3 separate regions of the Homo sapiens genome follow, and all the other regions are linked to region 3. The links are contacts of gene promoters, found by promoter capture Hi-C in human tissues and cell types (Jung and others, 2019). All regions are on one chromosome and are shown on one strand. Each heading gives the region's core, a stretch centred on a gene start or on the middle of the fragment in contact. The rest is flanking DNA. Distances are from core to core; before and after follow the strand shown. Region 1 has its middle 160 kb from the start of POTEA. Region 2 has its middle 140 kb from the start of POTEA. Region 3 holds the start of HGSNAT (heparan-alpha-glucosaminide N-acetyltransferase).

Region 1 (3,678 bases), core at 392-2,891, 310 kb before region 3:
GCATCATTAGACAAAGGCTTATGAAAAGTATTCCTTATATAAAGGGCAGGTTGTCATAAACTTGGGAGGAGGGCTCATCTGTGGGTGCATCGTGAAAAAGAAAGACAGCTAGGAAAAAAACTTGTATTTTCCCTGTCTAGTCTCTACCCATGCATGCATTGGACTGACTGGTCTACCCCTGTGTAGCATTTCACTAGACTCCCTAACTAGTGGCACCTGGGGGAGAGGTCAGAGATTACTAGGGACATTGTGTGCCTCCACTGAGATGCACTGGAACCTTTCTGTAGTTTCTGTGCTCCAGGACTGGGGCCAAGGGGCAGGAGAAACGTTGAGAGCAAAGGCAACTGATATCTCCAAGCCCCTTATTAACTGTCAGGCACTGCAAAACTGTGATTTCAAGTAACTACTCTATTATCACCAACCCCATTTTTTTTTCAGATAACACTTTAGGTCAATGTAACGAATGATGCCCAAGATTGTACGCCTGGCAAGAAGTGGGACTGAGAATTGAATCTGGGCTGGCCTAACTCCAAAGTTCTCTTGTTTTTTGAATCTGAAAACTCATATCAACTGTTTTATCACTTTATGATTAATTTACTCTTAGTGTTTAGACTCCTTAAAGGGAAGAAAGAAGCAACCTGATTGTGATCACTTTTCTACTTAACAAATCACTTTCCTATAGTTTATCAGTAAAATCAAATTTATAAGAAGTATGTGTACTTAAGTTATGTAAGAAATCATCTTTCAGAATTGATACTCTGGATTTCAGTTTCAAAATGGGGGCTCAGTCCCCCAAGGCATAAAAGTGAAAAACTTTATTACCTTTCTTTTAAATTCATCTTTTAGTTCTTGGATGGAGGAGGTAGGAGACCAAATAATGCTTGAAGTGACACATACCACTAAATTATATGCATTCATGTGATTGATTGAGGATTGTTGCTCAATATTGTGTAATATACCAAAGAGATACCTTAGGCTAACAACATTGGCACTCAGAAGCTGGTCTCATAGCGTAAAGAAAGAAAAATGCACTCTTTAAGCAAGACATTGTATTTAAAAACTTGCAAAGGCATGCAATTTTCACTTTGCATGGGGAAGAGTGCAAATCAACAACATGGTTCATATATGCAGAAGTTTCAGTTAACATGATACCACACAAGTGAGGACTGTCTGGACAGAAAGAAAAAATAAGCACTGGGAATTTTTTTGTTTTTGTACACTGTCTTCACAACTCAAAAATGTAAAATAATGCAGAAAATGCCTCATAAAAATGATGCCTGAAATATTTCCCTGAAACTAGTACAATGCATTTAAACTTAGGTCAACCCTTTAACATTTCAGAATATTAACAACTAAAACCCACAAAAAGCTTTCTGATCAAATTAGACAGCAATGAAATTTAAAGTATACCTTTATTTCCAAGCAGTAACCCAGAAATGCTGTCTTGGAAAGAATCAAAACCTTAAGGTCAATTTTGTCCTAAATCTGTCTCATTGTACCATTTTCACATATGAGTTGCTTATAGTATTATATTTTCTACAGTTCTCATTTTGTAGTTGATAAGAGATTTTGAAATGGTCACTCACCAAAAATGATTACTACTATTTAAACATATATATGTATATGTGCTTGTGTGTGTGTGTATATATATATATATATATGCTTGTGTGTGTATGTGTGTGTGTGTGCATGCTGATATTGATGACTGTTCTTTTTTTCAATAAAAACCTGCAAGCTAGGGCAAACAAGGTAGTCTGAATAATGCTCCACAAATAGCAGGCAGGTCTTTTGCAATACAATGGACTAACAATGAATATAGTTTTTGTAAGGATAAATTATGAAAGACTTTTAAATAGAACAAAAAAATTACTGGGTGTATTCAATGGAAAATAAGACATCTAGCATAAGCGTCTGGGTTATCTGCTTCTACGGGGCCCCAAGCTTCTTCACAAGAAGAGTTATTTTGTAACTTTACAAGTTATAAATAACTGACAGCAGCCCATCTAACACTGGTCTAATGATGTGAAAAGTATGTCTGGTGGAGAGACAAGTGATTTAGCCGCATGTACCCCTGCCCTGGTAGAAAAGGCCAGTTTTGTTTGTATCAATTTGTAAATTTACTTTAGCATTTTTTGTTTGTTTGTTTGTTTGTTTGGGGAGTTTGTTTTTTTTTGTTTTTTTTTTTTTTGAGATGGAATTTCACTCTATCACCCAGGCTGGAGTGCAGTGGCATGATGTTGACTCACTGCAGCCTCCCGGGTCCAAGCAATTCTCTAACCTCAGCTTCCCAAGTAGCTGAGATTACAGGCAGGCACCGCCATGCCCAGCTAATTTTTGTATTTTTTGTAGAGATAGGGTTTCACCATGTAGGCCAGGCTAGTCTTGAACTCCTGACCTCAGGTGATCCGCCCACCTCAGCCTCCCAAAGTGCTGGGATTACAGGCGTGAGCCACCGTGCCTGGCCCCACATTTTAGCACTTCTGATTCAACTATATATATAATATTTCAACTTTGAAGTCTCCTTTGAACTGGTTGTAACATCTTACTGGTTCCCTCATAAATGACTTAAATAAAATCTTTCATGTGTTTATTTTACATTTGTATGAGAGTCATAATTTTACTTTAAAAAATCCTTTAACAGCTTATAGGATATATAAGGTTTTAGACAATTAGAAATAAAGTATAGAATTTGATGCTCACTATCTGAATGACTTACGCCAAACTATAATGTAAGTGAAGATAGTGTTTTGATAAATGCCCTTGGTTTCTGGTGTCCTCAGCAGCTGTACTATGTTCTCCTATTGGTGAAAGATGTAGATAATTCATATTTGAAAATTGCTCAAGAAAAAAAACACACAGTACTAAATAAGAACATGCAAGTGAAAAATATTGAGTTTTCATAGAACTAGAAGTATTGCTTTTTGTTAATGGATATTTCTTTCCTATTCTTTTATAATGCAGGAAATATTTAGGCATGGGGTCCTGAGTTCTACCAGCATTTTTGTTTTTTTGCATGAGTAGAGAGAGTAGCAATCCCCCTTTTCCTTGACACTTTTTAAGTAGCTAACTGCCTCTCTACCATGCTTCCACAGCACTCTCCAAATATCTCTTACAGCACTGATTATACTGCATCGTAATTGTAATTCTTGGTCATCTATCTACTTTACCAGAGTGTGAGTTCCCTGAGAAGAGAGAATAAGTCATAATCTCTATGACTTCACCTGGTGAATGAAATATATGATGAGTTGTCTGGTTAAATATTTACCAAAATTACAATCATAAACTGTAGATTGGGCCTACAGTATTAGCTAGCAGACTAATGAATATCAACTCCTATCAGATTCGGATATACAGAAGGTATACAATGCTTAAATATTTCATGTTAATAAGCTAAAGGAGAAAAACAATAACAATGATAAGCCAGCATAAATATATTGTAATCTGGTCCCCATGGATATGACTTTGATATTTGTCATTATTTTAATAAACAAGCTTATAAAATCTTTTTAATAGTATTTTTGAGACACGACCAAATTAGACTAATTACATTTGAACAGAATTTATTTTCTTTTCATCATTTCCCTCATCCATTACCCAGACCCAGTGATCACAGAGATCTGACAAAAAACACTTCCTGGAATACTTTGCAGAAAATCTTTACATTGATGGAAAAACAGG
Region 2 (3,844 bases), core at 588-3,087, 290 kb before region 3:
ATCATTCTCTACAGACCTGCCTGATATGACTGCTAAAAAAGCTGGGTTGATTTTGCAATGCTTGCAAAGGTCTAGAAAGAATGCCATCCCCTTGTGCAAAGAAAAATGAGCTGCTTTTTTCTTCAAAGTTTTGGGGTTAAATGAGTCCCAGTGCTTTAGAATACACTTGAGAGGAGTACAGGCCAAAGATGGTCTGTTACCCATCTAGAAAGAGAACTGAGAATAAAAGGATCCTTTCCTTGGGATGGCCCAGGGTGGAGGGGAAGACAGTGGGGGCATTCCCCCTACTGTTTTCTCTCTTTGGTTCCTGGGCTCCTGGCACCTTGTTAAACATGCTACCCATGGTTGCAGGCATGATTCCCCAGCCATGGAACCAGAGGAATTAAGTGATGAGTTTAGTCATGTGTACCCATGCAGCCCTAGTTCTCTGTTTTTGATTACCCTGACTTCCTAGACTTGTATGATCTTCATGGCTCCCTGAAAAATGGATCTCAGGAAAGACTATGTAATAGTTGAATTTGGGCATGGCCCCTTTAATGGAGGGGGTGTACAAGATTGAACTCTATATCCTGCTATTGTGGGTCGTGCTAAAGGATTTACCCCTAGAGAATGGTAGTGGTTAACTTCTGGACTTAAAATTCCCTTACTATTTAAGTATTGTCTTAACTGCAAGCAGGATTGGTGTGTTAAAAGAACATAGGGATCAAATGGTGGTTTTCCTGCTGATGGGACAGTGTTCAGACTAAAACAGTTTCAGAGGACATTTTCCTCCTGATCTTTCATGGCATAGTTTTTCCCATTTACAGAAAGCCATAAACCCTGGAATCTGGTAGAGGGGCACAAAAAGGGAGAATTGGGAAGCTGGAGTGTCTCAGCAAAGGACCAACACTGAGACTCATGGTAAGGATACTCCACTAGTTGACGCTGCTGACCTAGAAATACCATATGCTTGCCAGAGGAAGGGTAGAAACACTCGCTGGGGGAGACCTCTGCTTCTAGAAAGTTACAAAAGTGGCATTCCCTTGAGCTATATTTGTAGTTACTATAGCATTTTTTGATCTTTCCTAACAGGACTATTTCTCTGAACTGTAAAAATTCCCATGATATTGCATACAGAGAGAGGAGACATGATGGTGGTGGATAGGAAAGGAGAACATTCTGCAATAGAAAAGCTGGAGATTCTGTTGCTGATCCAATTGAGCAGCTGGAGGCTGAGTTCAGTCCCAAAGCTTTTGAATTACATCAAGGTTTAGCCCTGGCCAGAAATTGTCAGTTGCCCTAGGACTTCTTCAAGCCCCATGAGATGGCTAGTTCCTCCATGAAGGAAAATTGGTTTGAAACATAACCAATAAGCCCAGCAACCTGAGGGCACTAGTGGATTCACTATCATGACAGCCCAACAAGCCTGTCATCTGAGCCTTGAGAAGCATGGCTCACACTAGAGGTATCTAGGTGGCCATCAGACACACAGTATATGGTTTGATTTGACTTTAAAATGGAGGTTAAGGGCCAGGTGTGGTGGCTCACACCTCATCCCAGAACTTTGGTGCCAGCCTGCCCAATATGGCAAAACCCCATCTCTACTAAAAATACAAAAATTAGCCAGGTGTGGTGGCATGTGTCATAATTCCAGCTACTTAGGAGGCTGAGAAATGAGAATCACCTAAACCTGGGAGGTGGTGGTTGCAGTGAACCAAGATAATGCCACTGCACTCCAGCCTGAGTGATACAGTGAGACTCTGTCTCAAAAAAATAAAATAATTAAATAATTAAAATGGAGGCTGAGAGCCCTGAAATAAAAGGACAGAGTTGAGGTCCACTCCTATACTCACCCTTTTGATAATCCTGGACAAGCCCCCACAATGAAGCTGCCTCATTTGTCTGGGGTAATACACAAGGTTCATTGCCTCACACCGAGGAAATCAAGGACACAGACACAGACAAAAGGAGTGGGTTTAAGAGCAGAAGTTTAATAAGTGAAACAAAGAAGAGAGCTTTCTGGTGCAGAGGAAGAGATCCCAAATGGTTTCCAGGTTCATAGCAAGATGCAGTTGGTTTATAGATGAGCTTGAGGAAGTCATGTCTGCCTTATATAGGGCACAGAGGATTGGTTAAACCAGGTGTGCCCTTTATATAGTACGTGAAGAGGCTGGCCACCCCACCCTGATCTTTTATTATGCAAATTGGGTCTCTAACAGGCTGTCACTATGTTGCCTTCTTTTATAAATATGTATAGATACATACACATACTTTTTTTTCTTTTTATTATACTTTAAGTTCTAGGGTACATGAGCACAACGTGCAGGTTTGCTACATATGTATACATGTGCCACATTGGTGTGCTGTACCCATTAACTCCTCATTTAAATTAGGTATATCTGCTAATGCTATCCCTCCCCCATTCCCCCACCCCAAAACAGGCACCAGTGTGTGATGTTCCCCTTCCTGTGTCCATGTGTTCTCATTGTTCATTTACCACCTAAGAGTAAGAACATGCAGTGTTTGGCTTTTTGTCCTTGTGAGAGTTTGCTGAGAATGATGGTTTCCAGCTTCATCCATGTCCCTACAAAGGACATTAACACATCCTTTTTTATGGCTGCATAGTATTCCACGGTGTATGTGTGCCACATTTTCTTAATCCAGTCTATCATTGTTGGACATTTGGGTTGGTTCCAAGTCTTTGCTATTGTGAATAGTGCTGCAATAAACATATGGGTGCATGTGTCTTTATAGCAGCATGATTTATATTCCTTTGGGTTTATACCAAGTAATGTGGTGGCTGGGTCAAATGGTATTTCTAGTTCTAGATCCCTGAGGAATCGCCACATTGTCTTCCACAATGGTTTAACTAGTTTATAGTCCCACCAACAGTGTAAAAGTGTTCCTATTTCTCCACATCCTCTCCAGCACCTGTTATTTCCTGACTTTTTAATGATTGCCATTCTAACTGGTGTGAGATGATATCACATTGTGGTTTTGATTTGCATTTCTCTGACGGCCAGTAACGATGAGCATTTTTTCATATGTCTGTTGGCTGCATAAATGTCTTCTTTTGAGAAGTGTCTGTTCATGTCCTTTACCCACTTTTTGATGGGGTTCTTTGTTTTTTTCTTGTAAATTTATTGGAGTTCATTGTAGATTCTGGATATTAGCCCTTTGTCAGATGAGTAGATTGCAAAACTTTTCTCCCATTCTGTAGGTTGCCTGTTCACTCTGATGGTAGTTTCTTTTGCTGTGCAAAAGCTCTTAGTTTAATTAGATCTCATTTGTCAATTTTGACTTTCATTGCCATTGCTTTTGTTGTTTTAGACATGAAGTCCTTGCCCATGCCTGTGTCCTGAATGGTAATGCCTAGGTTTTCTTCTAGGGTTTTTATGGTTTTAGGTCTAACATGTAAGTCTTCAATCCATCCTGAATTAATTTTTGTATAAGGTATAAGGAAGGGATCCAGTTTCAGCTTTCTACATATGGCTAGCCAGTTTTCCCAGCACCCTTTATTAAATAGGGACTCCTTTCCCCATTGCTTGTTTTTCTCAGGTTTGTCAAAGATCAGATATTTGTAGATATGCGGTGTTATTTCTGAGAGCTCTGTTCTGTTCCATTGATCTATATCTCTGTTTTACTACCAGTACCATGCTGTTTTGGTTACTGTAGCCTTGTAGTATAGTTTGAAGTCAGGTAGTGTGATGCCTCCAGCTTTGTTCTTTTGGCTTAGGATTGACTTGGTGATGTGGGCTCTTTTTTGGTTCCATATGAACTTTAAAGTAGTTTTTTCCAATTCTGTGAAGAAAGTCATTGGTAGCTTCATGGGGATGGCATTGAATCTGTAAATTACCTTGGGCAG
Region 3 (3,629 bases), core at 834-3,333:
AGAGTAACGCCAGCGGATTTTGACACCTTTTTTTTTCACTTTGCATTATTTGAATGTGGTTTTTAAAAATAATAATAACAGTCTGTATCACTTACAGACACGACCAAAGGACCCAATTACTAAGCCATCAAATAAGTCATCAAATATGACCTCGAAACTGAGCTTGATGTTCAGCTTCAAGAAAAAGCTGTCACCTTCCCACACAGCAGCTGACCTAAGAAATTCCAGGGCAATACCCCCAGAGCGTTACAGACAAAAGAACAATTATTTCCTTCTCTCTCCTCTGGTCTACCTCGTCTTGGTGGGCAAATTACCAAATAAAGTCACCTTCCAATGGTGCGGGGATAAATGTGCTGCTTGTGTATTACACCTTTATTTCCTTTCCAAATATTTAATTTCTGGTCTAGCTCTCTGCTCGTGAGTTATCTTTGCTGGGCATATTTTTAAAGACATAGTCTACTTTTTTTTTTCTTCAAGCAAATGCTGAATTTTCAAAAAGAAGGAAGATGATGACGTTTTTAGTAGGAAAGCTGTGCGGCCCAAACATGGGCTCCAGGTGACAGGGAAAGCCTTGCGGTCCCAACGCGGCTTCCCCTCACTACGTGTGATTACTATTTACAAACCACCTCTCTCTAAAAGTAAGTGCCCTTTGATAAGCTAATACTGGCGCTAAAATGCAAAGAGTGTTCGGCGGGATCAGTCCCTGACAAATTGTGATCAGGCAGATTACATAACCTCCCCGGGGTCCTTGCAATTTTAAAGGAGGGGAGCGCAGGAGATGAAGGTTGGGTGGATCAAGGATCGCACAAAATGTAATCCTCTGAGCCGCTTTTCCAAAATTCACAACGCCTTTCTCCTCCAGCTTCTGCTTGGAGAGGAGGGGTCGTTTGAACTCCATACACAGACACTAAAACTTCGTATTCTGACCAAGAAAAGGGCGCGAGAGGGGAAAGACAGGTGACTCCCACCGTCCCTCCTACCCAAAGGGGTTTGCGATGCTTGCCCGACCCCTCTGGGAGGGGCGTGTGCGAAGGACCTAGGGCCTGGGGCTCCCCGGTGCAGGGGTCTAGATGGAGACCTGGAATCTGTATTTGTCACCGTTTTCCCCACCGAGTTCGGAGAGCAAGCCAGTTGTGCAATCACGGTATGAGCTGAGCGCCTCTTAAGCCAGCGCACCGGACAAACGCCCGGGGTCCGGGGCCCGGGGCAAAAGCGCCCAGCCCGGCCCCTCCCAGGCGGCGGCGGCGGCGGCGGCGGCTTCCCAGTCACCCTGGAGGGAAAACGCGCCGAGGGGAGACGCGCGGAGGGCTCGCCCGGGACCGGGCTGCAGGCCGCGCCCCCACCGCCTTCTCCGCGGTTCCTCACCCGCCGCACATCCACGCAGGTTCAACCCCAGCGCGGGGCGAACGCGCGTCCCGGCCCCAGGCTTCCCACCCGCTGAAGCCAATGGGTCGCACGGCTCCGGCGCCACGTCCTCGGGGGCGAGGCCCTCAGGGAAGGGACCCTGCTCTAAGTCCCTCCGAACAGTGGACTGGGTGCAGGGGGAGTCCGAGCCCCCCCGATCCTCGGCTGGCCCGCCTCCTGGCTGCCAGTTTGTGGGGTCCCGGCGTCCCGATCCGCGGCCTCTGTTTAGACGGAAGGCGCCAGGACGCAGGCTCCGCTGGGGTGGGCGCCGCCTGGGCGCCCAGGTTCCACTCCGCCGCGGTCCGAACCGCCCCCTCCCCCGCCTCCGCGGGGCCCGGCCGCAGCACCCCGAAGTCCGGCCTCCGGTCTGGGGCGCGGGACCGCGAAGTCGCAGCAACAGCCCAGGCCACGGGGGCGGTTCCGGCCCGGCCTAGCGCTCGGCGCCGCGCACGGAGATAGGGGCGGCGCCGCGGAGAGGAGACGCTGCGCTCGTAGCCGGCCGGGCGGCGGTAGGAGGTGTGCACTCACCTCGTGGCGGCGCGGCCTGGGCATCGCGCCCCGAAGAGCCGCCGGGGGCCAGCAGCGCGGCGCTCAGCACGGACGCGGCCAGCAGCAGCGCGGCCAGCGCCCTGCCCGCCCCGCTCATGCCCGCCGCCCGCTCGGCCGCCCTTGCCTGCCCGCTGCGCCCCGCCCTGCGCTGCTCCGCCGCGGACGCCCGCGCGCCCGTCATCGCCCCCTCCGCTGCCGTCACCGCCGCCTGAGTCACCGCGGGAGGCGGAGGCGCCCGGGAGCCGCGGGCGGGGGAACCTAGGGGCTGGGCCGGGCCATGCTAGGCCCTGCCTTGAGGGAGCTGGCCAGGAAAGAAGCCGAGGCTCTGCGCCCCTGCGTTGGGAGTGTTTGTCTTCGGGAGGAAAAACAGCCGGAAGAGAGGCCCCTGCAGGCCAGGAGCCTTCTTCCCTCGCCCCACCTTCTCCAGCCGCATTCTGCCAAACTCCCGCCCCCGCCGGCCACCCTCCGCACGGGTGTTAGAGCCCTCGGTCCCTGTTTTGGAAAACGCCTCAATAAGCAAGACTGCAAAGTCCCTGCCCCCAAGGCGTTTATTACCCAGAGGGAGAGGCACGACTTAGAAGCCACCAAGCGGCCCCACCTCTTGAAAGAGCCCCCGGCCAGGCTGACGAAGTGGAAGGGAGCAGGTCGAGGAGTGTGCACACCCATTCTTGGCTGTATGCCGGGAGACACTATCGCAGGTATAAGGGACAGGTACAGTAATACCTATAGCAGAGGTGCTTGTAATTGCAAAACCTTGTCAACAAGCTGAATGTCCGCCAGCGAGAAAACAAACTGCCCCACAGCAGGGGAAGTGCTCTACAGCTTCCCGCATCCACATGGATAAATCTCAAAACACAAGGCTGGGGAAAATGCAAATTGCAGAATGCCTTTTTAATATATAAAGCAAAACAATAATGTATGTTGTTTAGGGACATCCATATATGTAATAAAAATACAAAGGCACACATGAAAATGTTGCGGGACTTTTCCTTAGTTCAGCTAAAGACGGTGGAGGTCCTTGTCACACGCCAGGAAAGATTAGGCTCGCAGACAATTTGAAGGGTAAGGCAGGGTTTTATTGGGTGTAAAGGAAGAAAAAGGGGAACAGGGACTCAGCAGAGCCAGAGTTCTCCTAGTTGTAGGCTTCCCACCTCACAGATTAAATCCCAGGTTCTCCCGAGGAAGAGGAGGGCCAGGCTCCTCCCAGCTGCAAACTGAGGAGCGAACTTCTGTGGCTCCACCCCAGAGCAGTGCACAGGCCAGTTGGAGTTTTACCAGGGAACCCTTCCCATCTGGCTCATTCCTCGCTCTAAAGAAGTCTATCTAACTGCCACTAGGATAAGAATAGGGACAAAGACAGATCTTAACTGCTTCCTGCTGATAGGGGGCACTGTTTCGGGAAAATGGCAATCAGATCTCCCTCAGAGGCCTATCTAAGGGTGCCCAGCAGAAGGGGCCATGGTCCGAGCTTCCAGTAGCATGACCGTTTGATGTCCTGAAGGCAAGAAGAGACAAACTGGGTTATTAAACACATATGGCCGGGCACAGTGGCTCACGCCTGTAATCCCAGCACTTTGGGAGGCCAAGGCAGGTGGATCACGAGGTCAAGAAATCGAGACCATCCTGGCCAACATGGTGAAACCCTGTCACTACTAAAAATACAAAAAATTAGCCGG

Evidence for each region. The method cuts DNA at HindIII sites, captures the fragments that hold promoters and counts their contacts. A contact is called where the count stands out against the background at its distance.
Region 1: a contact is called between a fragment that was not itself captured here and the fragment with the promoter of HGSNAT in region 3, in 1 of the 25 tissues and cell types used here (hippocampus).
Region 2: a fragment that was not itself captured here is called in contact with the fragment with the promoter of HGSNAT in region 3 in 1 of the 25 tissues and cell types used here (mesenchymal stem cells).

What each region holds. Positions count from the first base shown.
Region 1 is chr8:43,448,782-43,452,459 of GRCh38, reverse strand. It overlaps the pseudogene LOC100420534. Among named protein-coding and RNA genes, the nearest start is that of POTEA, 160 kb to the right of the region's middle. The HindIII fragment of the contact is 5,741 bases long and covers 1-3,678 here.
Region 2 is chr8:43,428,279-43,432,122 of GRCh38, reverse strand. No RefSeq gene overlaps it. Among named protein-coding and RNA genes, the nearest start is that of POTEA, 140 kb to the right of the region's middle. The HindIII fragment of the contact is 7,456 bases long and covers 1-3,844 here.
Region 3 is chr8:43,138,918-43,142,546 of GRCh38, reverse strand. HGSNAT (heparan-alpha-glucosaminide N-acetyltransferase) reads right to left here and starts at 2,083. Exons shown (of 18, transcript NM_152419.3): 1 at 1,933-2,083. The coding sequence starts at 2,050. RefSeq lists silencers at 1,104-1,483, 1,494-2,283 and an enhancer at 3,127-3,421. The HindIII fragment of the contact is 19,681 bases long and covers 1-3,629 here.